2 separate regions of the Homo sapiens genome follow, and region 1 is linked to region 2. Evidence: promoter capture Hi-C in 16 types of primary human blood cells and fetal thymus (Javierre and others, 2016). All regions are on one chromosome and are shown on one strand. Each heading gives the region's core, a stretch centred on a gene start or on the middle of the fragment in contact. The rest is flanking DNA. Distances are from core to core; before and after follow the strand shown.

What was found. The method cuts DNA at HindIII sites, captures the fragments that hold promoters and counts their contacts. A CHiCAGO score of 5 or more calls a contact.
Region 1: a fragment that was not itself captured here is called in contact with the fragment with the promoter of MYL2 in region 2 in 1 of 17 cell types (M2 macrophages); the score reaches 5.0 in M2 macrophages.

The regions. Positions count from the first base shown.
Region 1 is chr12:111,157,369-111,163,276 of GRCh38, forward strand. The region is part of intron 1 of CUX2 (cut like homeobox 2); the gene reads left to right. Among named protein-coding and RNA genes, the nearest start is that of CUX2, 130 kb to the left of the region's middle. RefSeq lists an enhancer at 3,315-3,926. The HindIII fragment of the contact is 7,135 bases long and covers 1-5,334 here.
Region 2 is chr12:110,919,329-110,925,121 of GRCh38, forward strand. MYL2 (myosin light chain 2) reads right to left here and starts at 1,251. Exons shown (of 7, transcript NM_000432.4): 1 at 1,199-1,251. The coding sequence starts at 1,201. RefSeq lists an enhancer at 1-2,059. The HindIII fragment of the contact is 13,220 bases long and covers 1-5,793 here.

The DNA of each region.
Region 1 (5,908 bases), core at 517-3,016, 240 kb after region 2:
TCAAGCACAGGATAGAGTTGGCATCTTATTCTGAATGCATTGAGAAGCTATGGGAGGATTTTCCTTGGGGAAGTGCTAGGATCTGGTTTATGTTTCAAAGATTACAGCTTTAAAAAAAAAATCACTCTAGGTTGTGTATAGAGAATCAATGGAAAGGAGGAAGGAAGAGATGCCAAAAGGCCAGGTTCAAGGTTATTGCAGGTGAGGATGGGTGATGGATAAGAATTTATTTGATTTGGGCTTTACATGAAAAGTCCAGTTGACCAAATTCATCGATGGTTTGGATTGCAGCATAGGAGTTGGTGATCCATTAGTAATGTCTACCATGGACACGGGAGGTGGCAGTGAGCATGCACATGCTACATATTTGTTATCTCTGCCTCATAAGTCATTCTTAGGTTGATGAGAGGGAGTGGGGAAGATGAAGAATCACTTAGGGATAGTAGTGTATAGCTTTAGCAACAGCTACAGATATTCCAGGAGATGTATTTGAAGAGGAATGTTCACTGGCCATTCCTGCAGACATTAAGCAAAGACATGGATTAGCACAACATCCATGAGACCACATGAATGCCATGTTGTCTCCACCTGAAATTGTTTAGGAATCAGTAAAGCAACTGGGACCCTCAGAAGATGTAAAAATTAAACCAAATCCCTGGAGAGATGTGCAAAGGACCAATGTGATTCCACAGAGACGCAATCAGGAAGGTTCAAAGAAAAGAGGCAAGGCAGGAGGCCAACGATGGAACGGATAATAGAAAAACAGTTTTCAATTATGTCAGGTGAAAACGGAGGATCAGGGATAGTCCCCTTCCCCCTCTCTTCCTCACCTCACAAACAGGAAGGACCTGGTAAGGATGGGTGGGGTGTGGAGAGCAAATAGCAAATGACCTACTGGAAGCACCTTTGATTTTTTGTTGTTGTTTTCTGTCAATCCCCATCTTTTAAGAAGAATGAGCTCAAGTGCGGTGGCTCATGCCTATAATCCCAGCACTTTGGGAGGCCAAAGTGGGAGGATCTCTTGAAGCCAGGAGTTTGAGGTCAGCCTGGGCAACAAAGTGAGACCCAGTCTCTACCAAAAAAAAAAAAGAATTAATTTTTATTAAAAAAAAAAAAAAAAGCTCAGCCATGATCAGACACTTGGAGAAAGTATGCCATTGTGTGAGTGGGCAGTGCAAAGATAGCCTGGGCTGGGGAAGGGAATGGGACTCTGGGGAGGAACAGCTGTTTTGAAAGCCCGGAGCATCTGCATGAAGATGGGTGACAGCAGCCTGGGGACCCTGCATGTTTTACACGATTTAAAACAAAACAAAAAAATCCTTTAGGAGAAGGGAAATGTTGTGAGATTATTATATTGAATAGGGCTATAAATGTAATTAAAACTTTCTACTTAAAGAAAAAAAAAGATACGAGGGCAGTCTGTGATTTTTGGCCCGGTCAGCCCAGCTTCCCTTCCTGGGAAGGGTCTAGAAAAAAGCTGTCAAATCATGAGCCAGTCTCTGCCCATGTACTCTTGGATGTAACAGCAGCAGTGTGGCCTTGGGAACAACACTCAGCCACAGAAAAACTTATTTCCTTCATGGACAGACAGGCTGGTCGTGAACACAGAGGGGCGCAGGAAATGGGAGCAAGGTGCTGTCCCTCAGGCCTGGGAAGGGGCTGTGTGGACCCCCATTTCTCAAGCCCAGCTGGTGTTCCGATCCCTCATCCCACTCAGACAGGTGTTGATAGTACCCACCTGAGAGCCCAACCCAGCTTCTCCTGCCAGGATTTTGTTGTTGTTGTTGTTGTTGCTGGAAACAGGGTCTTGCTCTGTTACCCAGGCTGGAATGCGGTGGCGCGATCGTAGCTCGCTGCAACCCCAGCCACCTGGGCTCAAGTCATCCCGCCTACCTCAACCTTCAAAGGTAGCTGAGATTACAGGTGTGCGCCACCATGCCCAGCTGTTTTTTTTTTTTTTCCTAGAGAGAGGGGTCTCACTACATTACCCAGACTGGTCTTGACCTCCTGACCCCAAGCAATGCTCCTGCCTTGGCCTCCCAAAGTGCTGGAATTACAGGCATGAGCTACTGAGCCCAGCCACCTGCAAGGATTTTAGAAATACTTCCCAAGGGTTCTGAAGCTGGACCAGTTTGAGAACATTTTTGGGTAGCTCATTTAAAAATATTAATTTTTTAAGGATGCATTATTTCATAAGCAACTGATCTGTAATTTTTAAAAATCAAGACATTAAAAATGATTTCAGAATAAACAATGAGTCTCCTGAACTTCCAGCCCCCTTCCGGCTATTCACATACTTCTTATTTGTTTTCTCAGGACATTTTGACCCATAGGCAAGCATGCAAGTGCAGCCCTATTTAAAAACAGAAAAGGAGGCCAGGCGCAGTGGGTCACGCCTGTAATCCCAGCACTTTGGGAGGCCAAGGCGGGTGGATCACCTGAGGTCAGGAGTTTGAGACCAGCCTGGCCAACATGGTGAAACCCCATCTCTACTAAAAATACAAAAATTAGCCAGGGAGGGTGATGCACACCTGTAATCTCAGCTTCTCTGGAGGCTGAGGCAGGAGAATCGCTTGAACCCGGGAGGCAGAGGTTTCAGTGAGCCGAGATTGTACCACTGCACTCCAGCCTGGGCGACAAAGTGAGACTATCTTAAAAACAAAACAAAACAACAACTACAAAAAAAGCAAAAGGAGTTAGGGGATGATTCCTTCTTTCCTTCAATATTCATTGAGCTCCTGCTGGGTGCTGGGCGCTGGGAATACAGCAATGAACAGAAGAATGTCTCCTGGGACAGGCAGCATAGGACGGGGCTAGGGGGACATTTGCTAAGCATGTCAACAAGTTGTGATAGAAGAATTACAAATTGTGATTCTGCAAAGAAACAGCATGCCATGGTTTGGAGGGCTATTAAATGGACCCCCTAAGGCTGAGGAATCAGACCAGTCAGAGATAGGTGTGTCTGGCCTGTGTGTGCAGGGTGCGTGTCAGAGTGTGTATGGGCAAGCATGTGTGTGCGGGCATCTGGGCGTATTCGGGACGTGTGTGTAGTGCAGGGTGTGTGTGAGTGTGTCTGAGCCTTCATCTCTGTGCCTGTGTGTCTGCATGTGCACACGTGCAGTGTGTCAGGGAGGGCCCTTCCTGGTCCAAGAACTCGCGTGACCCGGCACAGAGGGGGCGCGAGATGCGAGCAGGGAGCAGGGTGGCACTTGGCTGTGGAGGTCTCCTTGGCCACACGAAGGGGCCTGGGTTTTTGTCTCCATGTCCAGGGAGCCAATGGAGGGCTATGCAGAGGAGTGACGCAGTCCAGTGGCATTTTCAGGGGATTCCTCTGGAACAGCACCGTGGGGGGCAGGCGGTGGCCTGGAGGAGGAGGCTTGGTGACAGAAGATGGCTTGGACTTGGCCTTAGGAGTGGGGCTGATGGGGCTTGCGGTGATGATGTAATGTGTCGGGATGGAATGAATGAAGATGACTCCCGGGCTCCTGGCCTGAACAGCTGGGTGGACTCCGTGCCGCTTCCTGCCATGGGGAAGATGCAGGGAGGAATAGCGGGAGCAGATGGGACGTGAGAGTGCAGAGTTCCCTTTTGGCTATGGGTTTGAAACCTGAGATGCCCATGGTCTCCCAGAGGGGTTATCAGGTCCGCAGTGGGTGGGTGGTGGAGCTCAGAGACCTGGGGGCTGGAGGTGAGCCCTGGGCTTGACCACAGACGGGGCAGACTGTGTCTCCTTGGCTCAAAGGGCCAGCCCTTGCCTGGCTGCCCTGGGCTCTGAGCCAGAGCCCTGGATCACTGGAAGGGTACTTAAGCATGGCCACTTTATCCCCATCAGCTGTCTCAGCACAGCCCCTGGGCTCTGATGGGCAACACCCATTAAAGGGATGCACCCTCTGGGGACTCAGCCCAAAATGAACCAGAATCACAGCAGCAGGGCTCCATAGGGCTGGGGGATCATGAGGTTGGTTCCCCCAGCATTGAGGCCTCAGAACACTGGGTCACCTCCCTGGAGGCTGGGACCAGCTTCCCAGAGTGGTTCATGTCACGCTTATCTCAGAAAATAAGGACACACTTTGTTACTGAAACACTCTCTTGCATGCCTTGGTTGATGGTAATCCTAACAGCTAATGTTGAGTATTTTACTGTGTGTCCGCCCTGACTACCTATTGGCTCAGTTAATCCTCACAACAACCCCAAGAGGAAAGTTCTACAATTACTCTCATTGTACAGATGAGGAAACTGAGGTTCAGCAAAATAGTAGTTGCACAGCAGTATGGTGTAGACAGGACTGAAACAGGGCAGTTCAACTGCAAAACCCGTTCTCTTAGCTCTCACACTCTATGCTGAGTGTCGCTGGATGCCATTTCTTTTCTTTTTTTGTTTTCTTGAGACAGGGTCTCACTGTGTCACCCAGGCTGGAGTGCAGTGGCACGATCACAGCTCACTGTAGCCTCAACCTTCCAGGCTCAAGCAGTCCTCCCACTTCAGCCTCTCAAGTAGCTGGGACTACAGGCATGCGCAAACATACCCGGCTGATTTTTGTATTTTTCTGTAGAGACAGGGTATCCCCATGTTGCCCAATGTGGTCTCGAACTCCTGGGCTCAAGCGATCCTCCTGCCTTGGCCTCCCAAAGCACTGGGATTACAGGCATGAGCCACCGCACCTGGACAGGATGTCATTTCTTAAAGTCACTTCAGCAGGGGCGTTACTGTTATGCCCATTTTACAGAGGGGGAAAGCTGAGGCCCAGAGAGAGAAAATGCTTTGCTTAGAGTCGCACCACTAGTAAGCGGCATTGCCGGGCCTGGTGTGAAGCCCTGAACTCTCTCTCAGAGGTGAGAACTGCCCCTGGCCACCAGCCCCTGCCTTCCTCCACTGGAAGTGAAAGTCTCTGTTCCCCTACCCCAGCCCAAAGTATTCCAGTGACTGCCACGGGTGGGAGGTGGGGTTTCGTCCTTGGAGCTGTGGGCTTCTCAGAGCTCTGGGACCAGAGCTGGTGAGATCCTGTTGCAAGAGAAGCAGGCTTATCACGGGAGCCTGTGCATGGAGCCCTGGTGGGTGGGCTAAAGCCCATGTTGGATTGCAGCTGTATTGAAGCCCCACTGCTGGGATGTGCGGCCTTGGCCCACTTTGGGGGCTTGAGCCACCCTGTCCAGGAAGAACTCAATGGCTCACTGGGACAGCTCTCTCCATCACAGCGATGATGGGACAGTGCTGAACAGCTCACAAGCAGAGGAAGCTCTGTGGGTAATTGACTACTTGTTTTAGCAAGTGCGTGTATGTTTCTTGAACCCATAATTGGAAACTCACACCCTAATTTAGACACCTACCTACTGAAGCTTCCAGAAGACCCTTGCTTGATTAGCAGAGAGACGAAGAGCATAGAATTTGGGGTAAGGGCCAGGTGTGGTGGCTCACGCCTGTAATCCCAGCACTTTGGGAGGCCAAGGCAGGCAGATCACCTGAGGTCAGGAGTTCGATACCAGCCTGGCCAACATGGTGAAACCCCATCTCTAATAAAAATACAAAACCTAGCCAGGCATGATGGCAGGTGCCTGTAATCCCAGCTGCTCGGGAGGCTGAGGCAGGAGAATCGCTTGAACCTGGGAGGCCGAGTTTGCAGTGAGCCGAGATCCTACCACTGCACTCCAGCCTGGGTAACAGAGCAAGACTCTGTCTCAAAAAAAAAAAAAAAAAGGAATTTGGGGTCAAGCTGCTGAATTCGAATCTCAGCTCTGCTGCTGACTGGCTGCCTGACCTTGAGCTTGACCACTCCTAACCTCTTCATGCCTCAGTTTACCCACCTCATAGAATTGTTGTAAGAAGCAAACAAATGCTTAGAACTATATCTGGCATATAGTACTCACTTGGAGGCTGTTAGTTAAGTATTATTGACGGCATTGCTGTCTAA
Region 2 (5,793 bases), core at 1-2,500:
ACTCAGGTCTCCAAACGGTGATGCTGGAGGGAGCAAAGGACATGACATGAAGTTTCTCCAGAGCCCTCTGGTACCAGTGGATCATAAGCGTTTGTGCATCTTGCAGTGGCTCCTTCACCAACTAGGAGAAGCCACAGGTGTGTCCCTGGGGATGGAGGCCACACCTTCAGATCGCCCCTGCAGGATCCAGCCACTTTTGTTCTGATGCATTTCACAAAAAGCTCAGTAATGCACAGAAGGAGAATTGATTGGAGGGAAAGAAAAAGTCAGGCTCACTAAGCCATGATGAATGCCAAGATGAAATGACAGTTCTTCAAGGTGTTAAAACCCAACTGCGCCCCACACCCCACAATTTTCCCTTGCTCCAAATGGCAGCAAAACCTCCTCTCTGAATGCTCCGTCCTTGCACCACATCAATAGGGCAGAGAAGAGCGAGTTGACCTTTCTTCCCCACCCCACTTCTCTCTGACTTTCAATAACAGCAAATGATTCGGTACTCTACATATGTATTATTTAATTCTCATAACCACTCTGTCAAGTGGATACTATTATTATCATCCCCATTTTACAGGAGAGGCAACTGAGGCTCAGAGAGGTTGGGTCACTTGCCCAAGATCACACAGCCACACACACAGAAGGCAGAGCCGGAGTTGAACTTGGGCGTTGAACTTGGGGAGTTGAACTTGGGCATTCTGACTCCAGAGTTCCTGCCTCTAACCACTCTCCCTCCTGTGCTGACCCTGATTTGGGGACTGCCCACTTCAGGAGGGGGACACCTAACCCAACAGCACAGAAAGAAAGGTTTTAAATTTGCAAGTTCAAAAGGTGAAAACAAAAACATTCTTTTTCCCAGCTGCCTGAACAAGAGAAAAGAATTACAATTTGATCCTTAAAAGCATTCAATCCCATTTTGCAAGTCCTGGGAGTTATTGATTCCTCGAGAGGTCAGTAGACAAGCCATAAAAAAGCCAACTCTCTTATTTTGTGTTTGTGAGTCCCCGAGAGCTGCTGTTATTTGTGGCCTATCGGGGCATTGATTGGGGTTCCTCTGTGCCCGCGCAGTCAATGGGGCTTTTTCCACAAGGGGCTGGAGGCTTTGAGGGCCGCCTTCCTCCCCCTCCGCCGTGGTCCCTCGCTTGTAGTGGCTTCCTCTCCTCGCCCACCCGGCATCATCACCTCCTGGAGCCCTTGTACTCACCATGGTGGAAAGGACCCAGCACTGCCTCCCGAGAAGAATTCCACACTCCGCCCAGCTCTCTGCAGCCCAGGAACAATAAATACTTCCTCCCCATGTTTAAAAATAACCCCATGACCGCTTTTGGCAGTCATAGGTGAGGCGGGCACCACCTAAGGCCCCCCCACCCCATGCCGTTCTTCTGAAGTAAGGGTGGCTCACTCGCCACTGGGTGACACGTGAGCCCCCAAAAAGGCATTCAAGGTTAAAGAGGCAGTAGCTGGGTCATGGTCACGGGGAGAGATGCTGCGCGCTCTCTGCGGTGCTTGGGCCGGGGACACTTGTGCTTGTCAATTTTGAGAAAAAAAATGGCAGGGAGAGGAGACTGCTAAAATGCTCTGTTTTATCAGCCTGGATCTGGCCTCAGGGTCTTTGCACCTGTGTGCCCTCTACCTGGAATGTCTTTCTGTCAGTCATCGCACGGCTCCTTCCTTCACCTCCTTCACTGCATCTTTGCTCATATGTCATCTCCTGAGTGAAGCCTCCCCGACCACCATCTTTAAAATAACCATGAAGGCTGGCACTGTGGCTCATGCCTGAAATCCCAGCACGGCGGGAGGCCGAGGCGGGAAGATTGCTTGAGCCTAGGAGTTTGCGACCAGCCTGGGTGACATAGGGAGATGCCTGTCTCTACGCAAAAGAAAAAAAAATAGCTGTGCGTGGTGGTGCATGCCTATAGTCTCAGCTATTCAGGAGGCTGGGACAGGAGGATCACTTGGGCCCGGGAGGTTGAGGCTGTGGTGAGCCACGATCACACCACTGCACTCCAGCCTGGGTGACAGAGCAAGACCCTGTCTCAAAACAAACAAATAACACAGCCACGCACCTCCTGCGCTCCGATCTCCCTTCTTTGTTTCTCTGCACAGCGTGAGGCAGTCCCGAACACTGCCCACAGTGCACTGACTCATTTTCTTCAGCATCTGTGGAGCGTCAGCTCAGAGGGCAGGGATCACTTTAGTTTCCCTCACCACTGACTGTCTCCCCAGCTCCCAGCTCATGATGCACACAGCAGCAGCTCAAAAATAAATATTTGTTGACTGAAGAAATGACAAATCTCATTGACTGAGCACTGGCACGTGCCGGACACTATGTGCTCATGGCTCCCACACATAATTTTCCAGCCACCCTAGAGGGTGGGGACCACCTCATCATCCATGCCCCCATTTTACAGATGCGGAAACAAAAGCTCAGAGAGGCGAAGTGAGCTGCCCAGGGTCACACAGTGATGGAGCTAGGCGTGGACCCCTCTGGAGGCCCCTTTGTCTCCAGAGTCCAGGCTCTTTAAGAGCCTTGAAAACAGCAGCTGCTCTCAGAATGCAAGGTGTCATTATATAATACTTTTACTGAAGACAGCTTTCCTGCTGGGTGCAGTGGCTTATACCTGAAATGCCAGCACTTTGAGAGGCTGAGGCGGGTGGATCACTTGAGTCAGGAGTTCAAGACGACCTTGGCCAACATGATGAAACTTGTCGCTACTAAAAATACAAAAATTAGCCAGGCGTTGTGGCGCGGGCCTGTAGTCCCAGCTACTCAGGAGACTGAGGCAGGAGAATCGCTTGAGGCCGAGAGGCAGAGGTTGCAGTGAGCCGAGATAGCGCCATTGCACTCCAGCCTGGGCGACAGAGTGAGACTCTGACTCAAAAAAAAAAAAAAAAAAAAAAAGGACGGGCATGTTGGCTCACACCTAGCACTTTGGGAGGCCGAGGCGGGTAGATCACCTGAGGTCAGGAGTTCAAGACCAGTCTGGCCAACATGACAGAACCCCATCTCTACTAAAAATACAAAAATTAGCTGGGCGTTGTGGCACATGCCTGTACTCCCAGCTACTTGGGAGGCTAAGGCAGGAGGATTGCTTGAACCCAGGAGGCGGAGGTTGCAGTGAGCCGAGATCGTGCCATTGCACTCCAGCCTGGGCGACAGAGCAAGACTCCATCTCAAAAACAAAGACCAAAAAAACCCCAAACTAAACCAAAACAACAAAAGATGGCCATCTTCCTGTGCCCTTAAAGACAGCCTTGGGATTCAGGGAGCAAGAACTCGGGGCTTGGAATCATTGTGGTTATTTAGTGTCCGTGGGTGGCAGGCCTGAGTGCCAGAGGCCACACCTCTAAGAAGGAGAATGTCCCTCTGCCCTCCCAGTAGTGTGGGTGCGGGGCTGATGGCTGAACCAGCATTCATTCCCCTTCATCGAGCCCAGCGCAAAGCAACAAATTCCCTTCCCTTGAGGTGCGTAAGTGCGAGGGGAAGATGGACAAGGAGAAAGTAAACAAATGCACAACCCAGACAGTTGCAGGCAGTGACGGATCTCATGCAGGGATGAGACAGAGGCATGGCAGTGGCCAGGTGACAGCCTCAGACAGGGGCGCAGGTGGGCTCCTCCAAGCAGAGTCTGCAAAGGGGGCTCCAGGCAGTGGGGACAGCACATACCTCAAGGCAGGGAGAATTTGGAGGCTTTGAGGAACAGAAGGCCCCCTGGGGCTGGAGTTTTCCAGAGCTTAAAAAAAGAAATCACTTTTCTTATTAGGTTTTCCAGAGGGTAAAAGGAGGTGAGACCTGGCAAATGGTAGCTATCACTCACTCCCCTTCTCAGGTGGAAAAATAATCTCAATTTGGGGGCACACAAACCCAAGGACCATTGATGGCTGTGACAAAAAAAGGTGTGGGTTTTTTTCTTCTCTGCAGTCCCACATGGGTTAGAGTTACCCAGGACACTCTTCTGACAGATCTTTAATAACAAAAGATGTGTTCATGTGTGTGTGTAGGCACATGCATGCACAGACAAAAACACGTCTGCACATGCATAGAGGCACACAGACACGTGCATGTACACGCATCCACATATGTGCAGTGCACACATCAAGAGGAGCTTTTCTGTCCAAGGTTCTCTGACAACACCAGAATAAATGTTTCCCTAGCTAATAGGCACACCATAGATTTTCGTTAAAACCCTGTGTGAGCAGTCAGTAGCTCCAACTGGCCAAGTGAAAAGGTTGTTGCAGCCACAGAAGATGTGGAGAGTGTATGATGGGGGGTGGGAAGCCCCGGGGTGGGGATTAGGATGGGCTGGGCCCCCAGAGTCGAGTGGGGGTGTGTGTCCCTGAGGGACACCTGTACAGCCAGGCCTCCAGAAGGGGTACTAGAGGAACCATTCTGGCTGGATAGCAAGAGGGGTTGTCAAATAGGGCACTCACCCTCTCGGGCCTGTTTCCTCACCTGGAAAAGGGAGATCACACACCTCCATAAGGCTGCTGGGAGGATTAAGTGAGATTGTGTCTAGGGATTCTGGGAAATGGCGGCCTGAATGGGGCATGGAACCACGTGGCTGCTGGGACGTGGAGCACGTGGGGTGTGGACTAGGCCTTGGGGTCTGTTGAGAGAGCCAGAGATCCAAAGTCTCTCTCATCAATGGGTTGTGTTGCCCCAGGGAGCCCCCAAGACCAGGGACAAGGCCCTGGGATTGGAGAATCCAGGGAGGACTTGGTTCTTTGTAGACTTCAGGGGTTCCTTTCAGCATCAGCCTCAAGACTGCGGGGGCTGGGGAGGGAGCGAGTGGGCGGCTGGGGCTGTTGTGCCCTGCCCTCAAGGCTGGGTGGCGGAGGCCTCTTGCTGAGAAGCACATGCCCACAGGACCTGAGACCCCTGCCTTTTTGCTACCTGTGGGATTCCTACAGCTAATAAGTTTCCAGCAGCTAGACCTGAGTCCCACTGAATAGAAGAGAAAAATAACTGCTCACTTGAGGCTGTCAGAAGCCAGAGAGAAGCACAGTGGGCCGATCCATCAGAATAGCAACTTCTAGAATATCAGAAACCCAAGTGTATTTGTTTCTTATTGCTGCTATAAAAATATTACCGATGTGGTGGCTTAAAACAGCACTTCTTTTTCTTTTGAGACAGGGTCTCACCCTGTTGCCCAGACTGGAGTGCAATGACACAATCATAGCTCACTGCAGCTTCGAACTCCTAGGCTCAAGTGATCCTCCTCTTTTGGCCTCCCAAGTAGCTGGGACTATAGTCACGCACCATCACGCTCGGCTAATTAAAACAATTTTTTTAGTAGAGACGGGGTCACATTATGTTGCCCAGGCTGGTCTTGAACTCCTGAGCTCAAGCCATCCTCCTGCCTCAGCCTGCCAAGATGCTGGGATTACAGGCTCAAGCCACCACACCTGGCAACGTATTTATTATCTTGTAGTCACAAATAGGACTGTGTTCCTTCTGAAGCCTCCTGGGGAGAACCCGATTTTTGCCTTTTCTACCTCGGAGGATTCAGAGGTTGGAGTGATGAGGACCACGAAGCAGGGAATGAGGCACCGACACTCCTTGTGGACCACGAGGTCCCCACATTCCTTGGTTCGTGGTCCACATCACTCCAACCTCTGAATCCAACCTCTCTGACTCCTCCGCTTCCATCCTTTTTTTTTGGGGGGGGGGGCGTGGGGGACAGGGTCTCACTCTGTCACCTAGGCTGGAGTGCAGTGGCACAATCTCGGCTCACTGCAACCTCTGCCTTCTGGGTTCAAGCGATTCTCCTGCCTCAGCCTCCCGAGTACCTGGGATTA